Regions from separate parts of the Homo sapiens genome. Here region 2 is linked to region 1. The links are contacts of gene promoters, found by promoter capture Hi-C in human tissues and cell types (Jung and others, 2019). All regions are on one chromosome and are shown on one strand. The core of a region is centred on a gene start or on the middle of the fragment in contact, and the rest is flanking DNA. Distances in the headings are between cores, read along the strand shown. Region 1 holds the start of PLAA (phospholipase A2 activating protein). Region 2 overlaps MOB3B (MOB kinase activator 3B).

Region 1 (4,449 bases), core at 1,203-3,702:
TAGATAAATACATACAGGAATGAATTTTGAAAAACAAAAACAAAAAAATCATGAGTTCGGCCAGGCGTGGTGGCTCACGCCTGTAATCCCAACACTGGGAGGCCAAGGTGGGCAGATCACCTGAGGTCAGGAGTTCAAGACCAGCCTGACCAACATGGAGAAACCCCATCTCTACTAAAAATACAAAATTAGCCGGGCATGGTGGCACATGCCTGTAATCACAGCTTCTTGGGAGGCTGAGGCAAGAGAATCGCTTGAACCCCGGAGGCGGAGGTTGCAGTGAGCCAAGATTGTGCCATTGCACTCCAGCCTGGGCAACAAGAGCAAAACTCTGTCTCAAAAAAAAAAAATCAATAGTTCAATGAACAACAAAATCACTTTTCAAATAGAGAATCAGTTCAGCCCAAAGTTCTTCAAGTTCCTGGTAAGCACAACCACTCCAGTGATTAAACCCTTGTCAAACTAGTACAGTCCCAAAAGTTTAATGACAGGATTCCATTATTAAAACAGGCATCCTTGATTATACTCCTTACTGCAATGGTTATATTCTACTGGGCTTATGCTTCTACTGGATTCAATTTTAAAGGCAAAAACTTAATAACTGTACTCAAACAAAAAGTTCCATATTAGTATTACTAAGTAGTTTTGGATATTATAGAATTTTAGAGTTAGATCTTTAGAGATCATCTCATTCAATTCAATACAGGAATTTGCTCTATACTATCCCTAGCCTAGTGGACCATCTTGTGTTGATTATACTACTTCAAAAGCCTCCAAGCAAACCCACTTCTACACTTATCCCTTCTCAATCTATTCTCTACCATCAGCTAGCAGAAACTTCTCAACACGGAAATCAGATCATGTTGCTCCCTGCTTGAAACTATTTGAAGGCTTCCATCTGCAAACTCCATAACCTGGCTCTTGCCAGCCTCAAAACCTGCCCTCACCTCACAGCTAATTCCCTCCTGTTTGCTCCTCCAGCTGCCTGGAATGCTCTTCCAATTCAATCCTCCCTATTTGCTCTTCCACGACCAGCTCCATCCATCTCATGCTTCAAATGTCAACTTTAAACAAACAACTCCTCAGAGAGGCTTCCTTTAATATATCTCTCCACCTAATTAACTGTATGTTTTCTTCACATGCCAGTTTTTAATTATTTATTGGCTTGTTTTTTAATCTATCTTCCCCATCAGACTGTAAGAAAGCTCCAGAAACACTGGCAACTTGTCTGTCTTTATTCCTCTCCAGTATCCCAAACAAAGAGGAGGCACTCAACAGTTATCAACTGAATTTATGGATGGTGACTCAAATTCTAAAATCTCTAGCAGTGGGAGACCTACTAAATAACAAAATAACTAACCTCAATTTTTCTTTCTCTGAACTGCAATCTGTCTTCTAGGTCTTAAATATCCTGTTACAACCAGCCAAATCAGGGCTGAACCCGTGAACTCGATCAGGACTGATTCCTAACCTTTTTCTTCTTTTTTTTTTTGGTTCGTGAACCCTTCTGATAAATCCTTTGAAGGCAATGGATGCTGCTTCTCCTCAAGAAACAGCACATGCACAGAAACAAAACATCCGAGAGGTTTCACTCCCTCAGGACCAGCACAGACCACAGACTAAAATTCTAACCTGGACGAAAAGAGGATTCACCAGTGCAATTTTTGAGAACTAAAGTCTTCAAAAATTAAATTTTACAGAAGACTACAGAGCATCTTCTTCGAAAAAAAAAAAAAAAGAGGACATTTCAGATGCCTTCAAACTACCTCACTTCGGAGGGTGCAACTGCAATCAGTAAATTTTCAAGTCTAAAAGAAACTTGGGAGATCATCGTCCAAAAACTGAAGGCCCAAAAGGTAGGAGACTCGTCTGTGGTCAAGTTAGCACAACAAGGCAGGTCTTTGGTCCCCCAACCCTGTGCTCTTTCCACTTAAATCCCGATGGTTTCTTACAGAGTTCTAATAGTCTGAGAATTGGAAGGGAGCGGAGAGCAGAGGGAAGGCTGGGGGGAGAGAGAGACGGCAGGACTGACAGGGAAGGGTCACTCTCCTTCCACTCTCCGGGAAGCGTGCAACACAGCCGGGGCAACCCGACTCCCAGCGCTCACCTGTCTGGGGCCCAGAGGCGGGTGGTGCGGTCTCGGGACACGGACACAAAGGCTCCCGGCGGATAGGCGCAGCACACCAGGCCCCGTACGTCCAGCTCGTGGCCCCGGAGCGAGCAGCTCAGCCGGTACCTGGTTGCGCCGCTCGTCATGGCCAGTGTCTGTCTGGCGCCCGGTGCCCAGGCACTGTGCGAGACCAGTCCGCAGGGGCGACTCGGAGAGCGCCGGGCCGCGGCGGGAGAAGAGCCTGCAGGTAAGGGGCGGCCGGAGACCGGAAGAGCCCGAGAGCCGGTACGGAAGGGCGGCTGGGAAGGGGCGCGCCGAGCGGGCCGAGTGACACAGCAAGCCTGACAGGCACTCCGGAATTCATCATCGGCCTCAGCCCTCCATGACGCAGAGTGTGTGCGTCCCAACCGCCGACGCCGATGCGGAGCTGAGCTGGCTTTCCTCCAGGGCTCTGGACTCCCTGCTGAGCAAGAGAGAAAGAGGCCCGCCCTTCCACCAGGACGCCTGACCCTGGGGTCCTTCCCAAACCCGGGTCTCTTCCGACTCCGGGCCCAACAGTTTGTGGTAAATCGGGAAGCGGGCCGGGACTACAATTCCCATAATGCCGCGCCAGCTGGCGTGGACATCCGGCGCGCCGAATCCGGATATTTTAAACCTGAGTCTTTCGCGCTGGGCATGGCGGAATGGCTGAGTGAGGTTGTTTGGTGTCTACTGTTAGGTCATCCTCACTGCTTTTCCCTGAGAATCTCGAGGTTTTTGCAAGTTAACCTTGTTTTTCAATTAAAACGAGAAAGCTTGAGGCCAAATTGGGAACTATTAATCATTGAACTATTCCTCCGTTTCAAGTTATCTGAATCTCCTACTCTCTGTTGTCAAATTTAGCAAATACGGTGGTCCAAGTCAATTTTTTAAAGGTATAACTACTTTTCTCTGGCGGCTTGTTAAAATGTAGATTCTGATTCAGTAGGTCTGAGTTAGAGCTGAGATACGTATTTTTAACAACCCCGCCGCCCACCCACCCGTGGTGCTACTTGCTAGTCATTATCAGACCTTATTGAGTGCCAGGGTAAACATGACCTGTCTCCTTACTTTGTTTTCTTCCCATCCGCTATTCTCTCGCATCCAACTACACTTTTCCACAAACCTTTCTAAATTGCTAAGCCCAATTCACACTTTTCTGACTTCTCCCTTCCTAAAACTCCTACTCTAGGTTTGGAATCACTTTTCCCCTGGTTTGGGAGATCATTCTTGAAATGCTGACTTTTGATACTTCTTTGCTATCATATCCCCTCCCTGGGTGGATTATTTACTACTTGGCTTATTTCTAGAGCTGTATTCCCATATTGTCTTCTCCAAACTCTAGATCTGTATTTCTAGCTATCTGTTAGAAATCTGTACCAATTAGTCCTACTTAAATTATTTCAACATTTCTCTGGCCTTTCTACCCCTTCTCTCCAGCCAATCCTACACATTAAAATATAATTATCTTTCTGAAATATACACTTAATTGTTTTTTCTCTGTTTGACAACCTGTGATGGCTTTCCATTATTTTTTTTTTTTTTTTTTTTTTTTTTTTTTTTTTTTTTTTGAGACGGAGTGTCGCTCTGCTGCCAGGCTGAGTGCAGTGGCGCGATCTCGGCTCACTGCAACCCTCGCCTCCCGGGTTCAAGCGATTCCTGCCTCAGCCTCCCGAGTAGCTGGGACTACAGGAGCGCGCCACCATGCCCAGCTAAATTTTGTGTTTTTAGTAGAAACGAGTTTCACCATGTTGGCCAGGATAGTCTCAATCTCTTGACCTCATAATCTGCCCTCCTCTGCCTTCCAAAGTGCTGGATTATAAGCGTGAGCCACCACGCCTGGCCGGCTTTCCATTCTTATAGTACAGCATTACATAGGGCCTTTCACACAATCTCCCTAATCTGTTTTACTAGATTCATCTCCCTCTGTTATCTCTCTTACTCTAGACATTTCGAATTTGTCACAATTCCCTGAACACATTATGCTGTATGCTCTCCATGTCTCTATGCTCTTTGTACATGCATTTTTTTTTTAAACTTAGAATTCCACTTTCTCCATCTGTCATAGTTCAACACCAGTTTATCTTCTGTTTTTTTCTAGTTCCTCTGGGGAACCAATGCAGTTTTGTCTGTTGTCAATATAGTATTTACTGCATTCTAATATGTTCTTTTATGTCTGTCTTTTCTACCGGACTACATTTTATTATTATCAAGACCTTTATTTTACATGAATCTTAACCATCTAATTTACTGCCTCCTATATAATAGGAAATGTTTTTCAACTTGGTATAGTATTCAGTTTACCAATTTTCACAGTCTCT
Region 2 (4,449 bases), core at 1,113-3,612, 480 kb after region 1:
TATTATAAGACAGGTGCTAAGTGCTTTAACATATATTAACTCATTTAATCCTCTCAACAACTATACGAAGGAGGTGCTAATCTGCCCACTTTACAGGTGAAGAAATAAGGACACAGAAAAATTAAGTTACTTTCTCCAGGTTACATAGCTAGTAAGTGGTGGAATTAGGACATGAACCTAGACAGGCTGGCTTCAGAGTCTGTGCCCTTAGTCTCAAGGCAATACAGTGTAAATGTCTGTGCATGCTGACTACATACGCATCTTAAAGCTCTGGCTTCCTGACAGTTAATCATCACTCACATAGAGTTAGCCTCTTGACATCCCCTATGCTTAGGTATGAAGCTGTTAAGTAAGAGAAGAAAAATGGAAAAAGGACATTTACTGTTTCTGTGGCTTCTTAAAGACACTAAGACTACAGACAATGAACTTAGAAGAAAAATGATTAGGCTGATTTAGAGGTTCATCCCAAACATCCCAATAACCATGACCAAATGAAGCCATGTCCCAAGACGTGCTAGCCACGGACACAGAATAATGTGTATGAGGCTCAAACTGAAGGCCCAAAGAGATACACAGGAACAGGGCAGGTCCCCAGTGAGTCATTTCAGAGCAATTGCTTTTTGCTTTCCTTCTCCCATTTACTTCATTTCTCATCTGTTCTTATATGAATCAAACCCCAGAACTGCGAGGAAGATAAACTCTGAGTGATTCTTGCTATTGCCAAACCCAGTGAAAGAACCACCGGGGGCCAATCATAAACTGCATGGGGACCCATGACTACTCAGTCAACATGACTTCTGCCCAATCCAGTGGGTGCGCAGACTCTACAAAGGGCAAATGCTGATGGTGAGCTTAATGGGATAATGCAATTTGTACTGGCCACCGAGCAAAGAATATACCAGACTGGAAAGCCAATCTGCCAATCAACTCATACATAGTAAGTTCCTACCATTTGCCACAGATTAGAACACAAGAGTTATGTTGGTGCATCAGTAGTAGCCATCCATGTTCCATACTTGTGTCGTAAGAACCAAAACTCTAGAGAGAAACCTTCCAGAAACTGTCCTCAACCTTCCAGGTCTCTTCCAGCCTCTTCCCAAGACAGCTGCATTCTGCTCTAGGGTTCTGTGAAATATGCCTGTAATCTTAGAAGTAAATTTTTCTCCACCACCCATAATTTATTGCTTGCTTGCTTAAACTAAACTACCTCCAGTTAGTTTTTGTTACAGGAAAATCCTCATTCAAAGTAACTGGGGGCATCCAGGCGCGGTGGCTTGTGCTTGTAATCCCAGCACTTTGGGAGGCCGAGGCAGGTGGATCACCTGAGGTCAGGAGTTCAAGACCAGCCTGACCAACATGGAGAAACCCTGTGTCTACTAAAAATACAAAATTAGCCAGGCATGATGGAGCACGCCTGCAATCCCAGCTACTCGGGAGGCTGAGGCAGGAGAATCGCTTGAACCCAGGAGGCGGAGGTTGCGGTGAGCCGAGAGCGCGCCATTGCACTCCAGCCTGGGCAACAAGAGCAAAACTGTCTCAAAAAAAAAAAAAAAACAAAACAACAACAACAAAAAAACAAAGTCACTGGGGGCAGATCTGTTTCTAAAATTCAGGATTTCTCAGAATTCAGAATGGTGCTGTGATACATATAGTACCCATTACATAACACCCCCAGCAGAGCCTGGGGCAGCACCTTGGAATCAAGCACATTAATACCTTTTCAGGGAAACATGAATGTTCATATTAAGTTAGATAAATAAAGAATACAAATAGTTTCATGCAGATGAAAACACTCATGGTTTTCAGGCTTTTTCTAGACTTCAGAATAATGGATTGTAGTCCTATATTTATAACCCAAAGTCCAATGCAGTGGGCTTATGTCTAAAAGGGGTCAAGGGTTCAGTGTGTTCATTAGAAGGCATGAGGCTCTTTTGTCAGCCTTCTCTTCCTTTCCCTTTTCCTAGCATCCCCCTCCCCAAGGTATTTCCAAACAATGTATTTCAAGCTTACATTCTACCATCTTTTCATCAATCAAACCACAAAGGGCCTGAAATGAGGGACTGGAAAAGTCATAGGTAAGGAAGGAAGAGTGACGGCAAACTGACTTATCCATTAGACGTTAGACGAAATAGCCCTGATTCACCCAGCAGAAGGAGGAGGGTGCTCTGTTTCTTTATGGAAAAGCAGGAGGAGTTGAATATTTACACAGTGCTTACCACAGCTAAGCCTTTAAATATATGGTTTCATTTCATCCTCTCAGTAAATCTTAGGAGGTAAGTGCTACTGTTATCCCCCATTTTACCTATGAGGACACAGAGACTTAGTAAGCCAGGAAGTGGCAAAACTGGGATTCCAACCTATCCTGTGTTGATACCAGAGCCCACACTCTTAATTTGTTTAACTTGGTATAAATAAAGTCATGTACATTGAGTGTTACTCAAACCTAATTTTCTCAGTTACAAGCACCAAATAGGAAGGAAAGGGGTTATACGTTTTGTTTTGTTTTCATTTTTGCTTGGCATGAGCAGAACAGGAAGGTATAGTGTTGGGGTGCAGGGAGAGGTCTAGGGGACATACACTGTTTTTCAAGCCTGCATCAGTTGAGATATCATGTGTATTGGCAAAGCTTATGCACACAGAGGTCCAGGCAGGTGACCAAGCTACTGTGAAGTGAATCTTTTGTTTGGGCACACAATGCTACCCCTGCAGGGATTTCTGAAGCTCGCTCCAGAGCGTCATGGCCATTGCCTGTCAGAGCTCTACCTCATGCCTAGAAGCAGCTGCTGCTTCTTCAAAGGAGTCCAGGCTCAGCTGATATCTAATCTCAGAATAATACATGACACTGTCCCCCCCTGCCCGACTCAGAATCCAAGGGGAAAATAATGAGATCCTCTAGGTTCCCCCAAGACTCACTTCCCAGGCTTGCACTATTTCCTTTTCTGCAGCCTCCTACTGCCTAGACTTGGAGGACTGGTTTCAGTCAGAATAATCCCCGCCTCCCACCTCCACCCCCATGTGCTTAAAAGCAAGCTCTCAGAGTTCATGACAAGTACAGAGAGATGGAGGGTAATGGAATAGGCGGGATGCTTGATTTTTCTTGCAGAATCCCATGCTTGTGTGGGCAAGATGAATCTGCAAGCACACACTGGATTATTCTAGGTGCCAATTTAGGAAGAGAACATCCAAGTTTGCCATGAGCAAAGGCAGAGCAAGGGCTACATGCTCTCCTGAAAGCAGATCCCAGAATTCCAGGGCAGGGAGTGAAAAATGCCTCCAAGGCTTGACTTCCTGCCTACCTGCATCAGAGTTCAGGGCACCTTGATGCAGACCTAAAGCAGTGCTAGTTCCATTTTTTTTCCCACCCACCAGAAGGCCAGGGCTAAGCCTCCTTAGTACAACCCATAGACTTTATGTTCAACAAAAGGAGAAACTTCAGGAACTGATATAGCCCAAATGTGCAAGCATTCCCAAAGAGCATCTGGTTACCTCCAAGGGAAAAAGAAATGCAAGCAGGCATGAACCACGTCACCTGCCAGACAATTCCCATGTGGCTAACGTCAAACATTCTTTCAGAGTGACTGGTTTGAAGAGAGATGTCTGCAAGGACAAGGAAAAGCTTTTCATATGCAGCCACCTCTCTGCTCCAGTTACTCTAGTAGTGCCTTAATGTCAGCCCAGGTAGTCATGCCTCTGGGATAAGTAGGTACATAGAAGGCACTAATAAATCTCAGATTTTCTAACAAACTCGAGAGATGGATTTACTCCATTGTTTTTTTGTGGCTCATCTTCCCCTAGTTCAAATAAAAAAAAGGAATGTGCAGAACAATAAAGATTCTATTCATATTTTTTGCCTTGTCTTTGATCTAGTTGGAATCTGTGTTTCAATACTGAATGGGAAATGAATGCCTTTGGAATTTCAGTCTTCCTGTTCAAATTTATTTCCCATCATGCCCTTCAGGAGCCCTCACAGAGGTTTCCTTATCCTCTCTTCTGCCTCTTTGGTGAGGCCTTTGCTTCCCTCCCTCCTAGGTCAGGCTCTCCAGCAGTCCCTCCAACCAAGCCCACCTGGCCCTATCTTGCCTATTAAGTTGGTTTTTACACCTGTGGGCCTGGCTACCTAGCCTGAACCCAACCCAATACTTCTGGTTTCACTGAGCGGTGACCAACCTACTTCCATCCCCAGTTTGTTCCAGTTTAGTACCTCCTGGGTCACACTTTAGGCATAATCCCTTCTCTAACAGCAGCCACTGCAAGCTGAATGTTTGGTCTACATGTTTATTACAGGCTATCCATGCATTCAGCAGCTATTTACTGAGGGGCTGCTATGGACTAGGCATATCAAAACAACATGGTGATGAAAAAATAATGTCCTTGTGATCAAGGAGCTCATGATCTAGTATATCTGTGCTTCTCACACTGGAATGTGCACAGAGACCACCTAGGGAAATT

What was found. Contacts are between HindIII fragments. The study calls those that stand out against the background at their distance.
Region 2: a contact is called between a fragment that was not itself captured here and the fragment with the promoter of PLAA in region 1, in 1 of the 25 tissues and cell types used here (dorsolateral prefrontal cortex).

The regions. Positions count from the first base shown.
Region 1 is chr9:26,944,790-26,949,238 of GRCh38, forward strand. It overlaps PLAA (phospholipase A2 activating protein), which reads right to left and starts at 2,453. Exons shown (of 14, transcript NM_001031689.3): 1 at 2,108-2,453. The coding sequence starts at 2,256. It also overlaps a transcript of IFT74 not described here. RefSeq lists enhancers at 1,528-2,203, 1,947-2,206, 2,204-2,877, 2,467-2,776. The HindIII fragment of the contact is 5,571 bases long and covers 1-3,757 here.
Region 2 is chr9:27,423,836-27,428,284 of GRCh38, forward strand. All of the region lies in intron 2 of MOB3B (MOB kinase activator 3B), which reads right to left. Among named protein-coding and RNA genes, the nearest start is that of IFNK, 98 kb to the right of the region's middle. The HindIII fragment of the contact is 3,927 bases long and covers 400-4,326 here.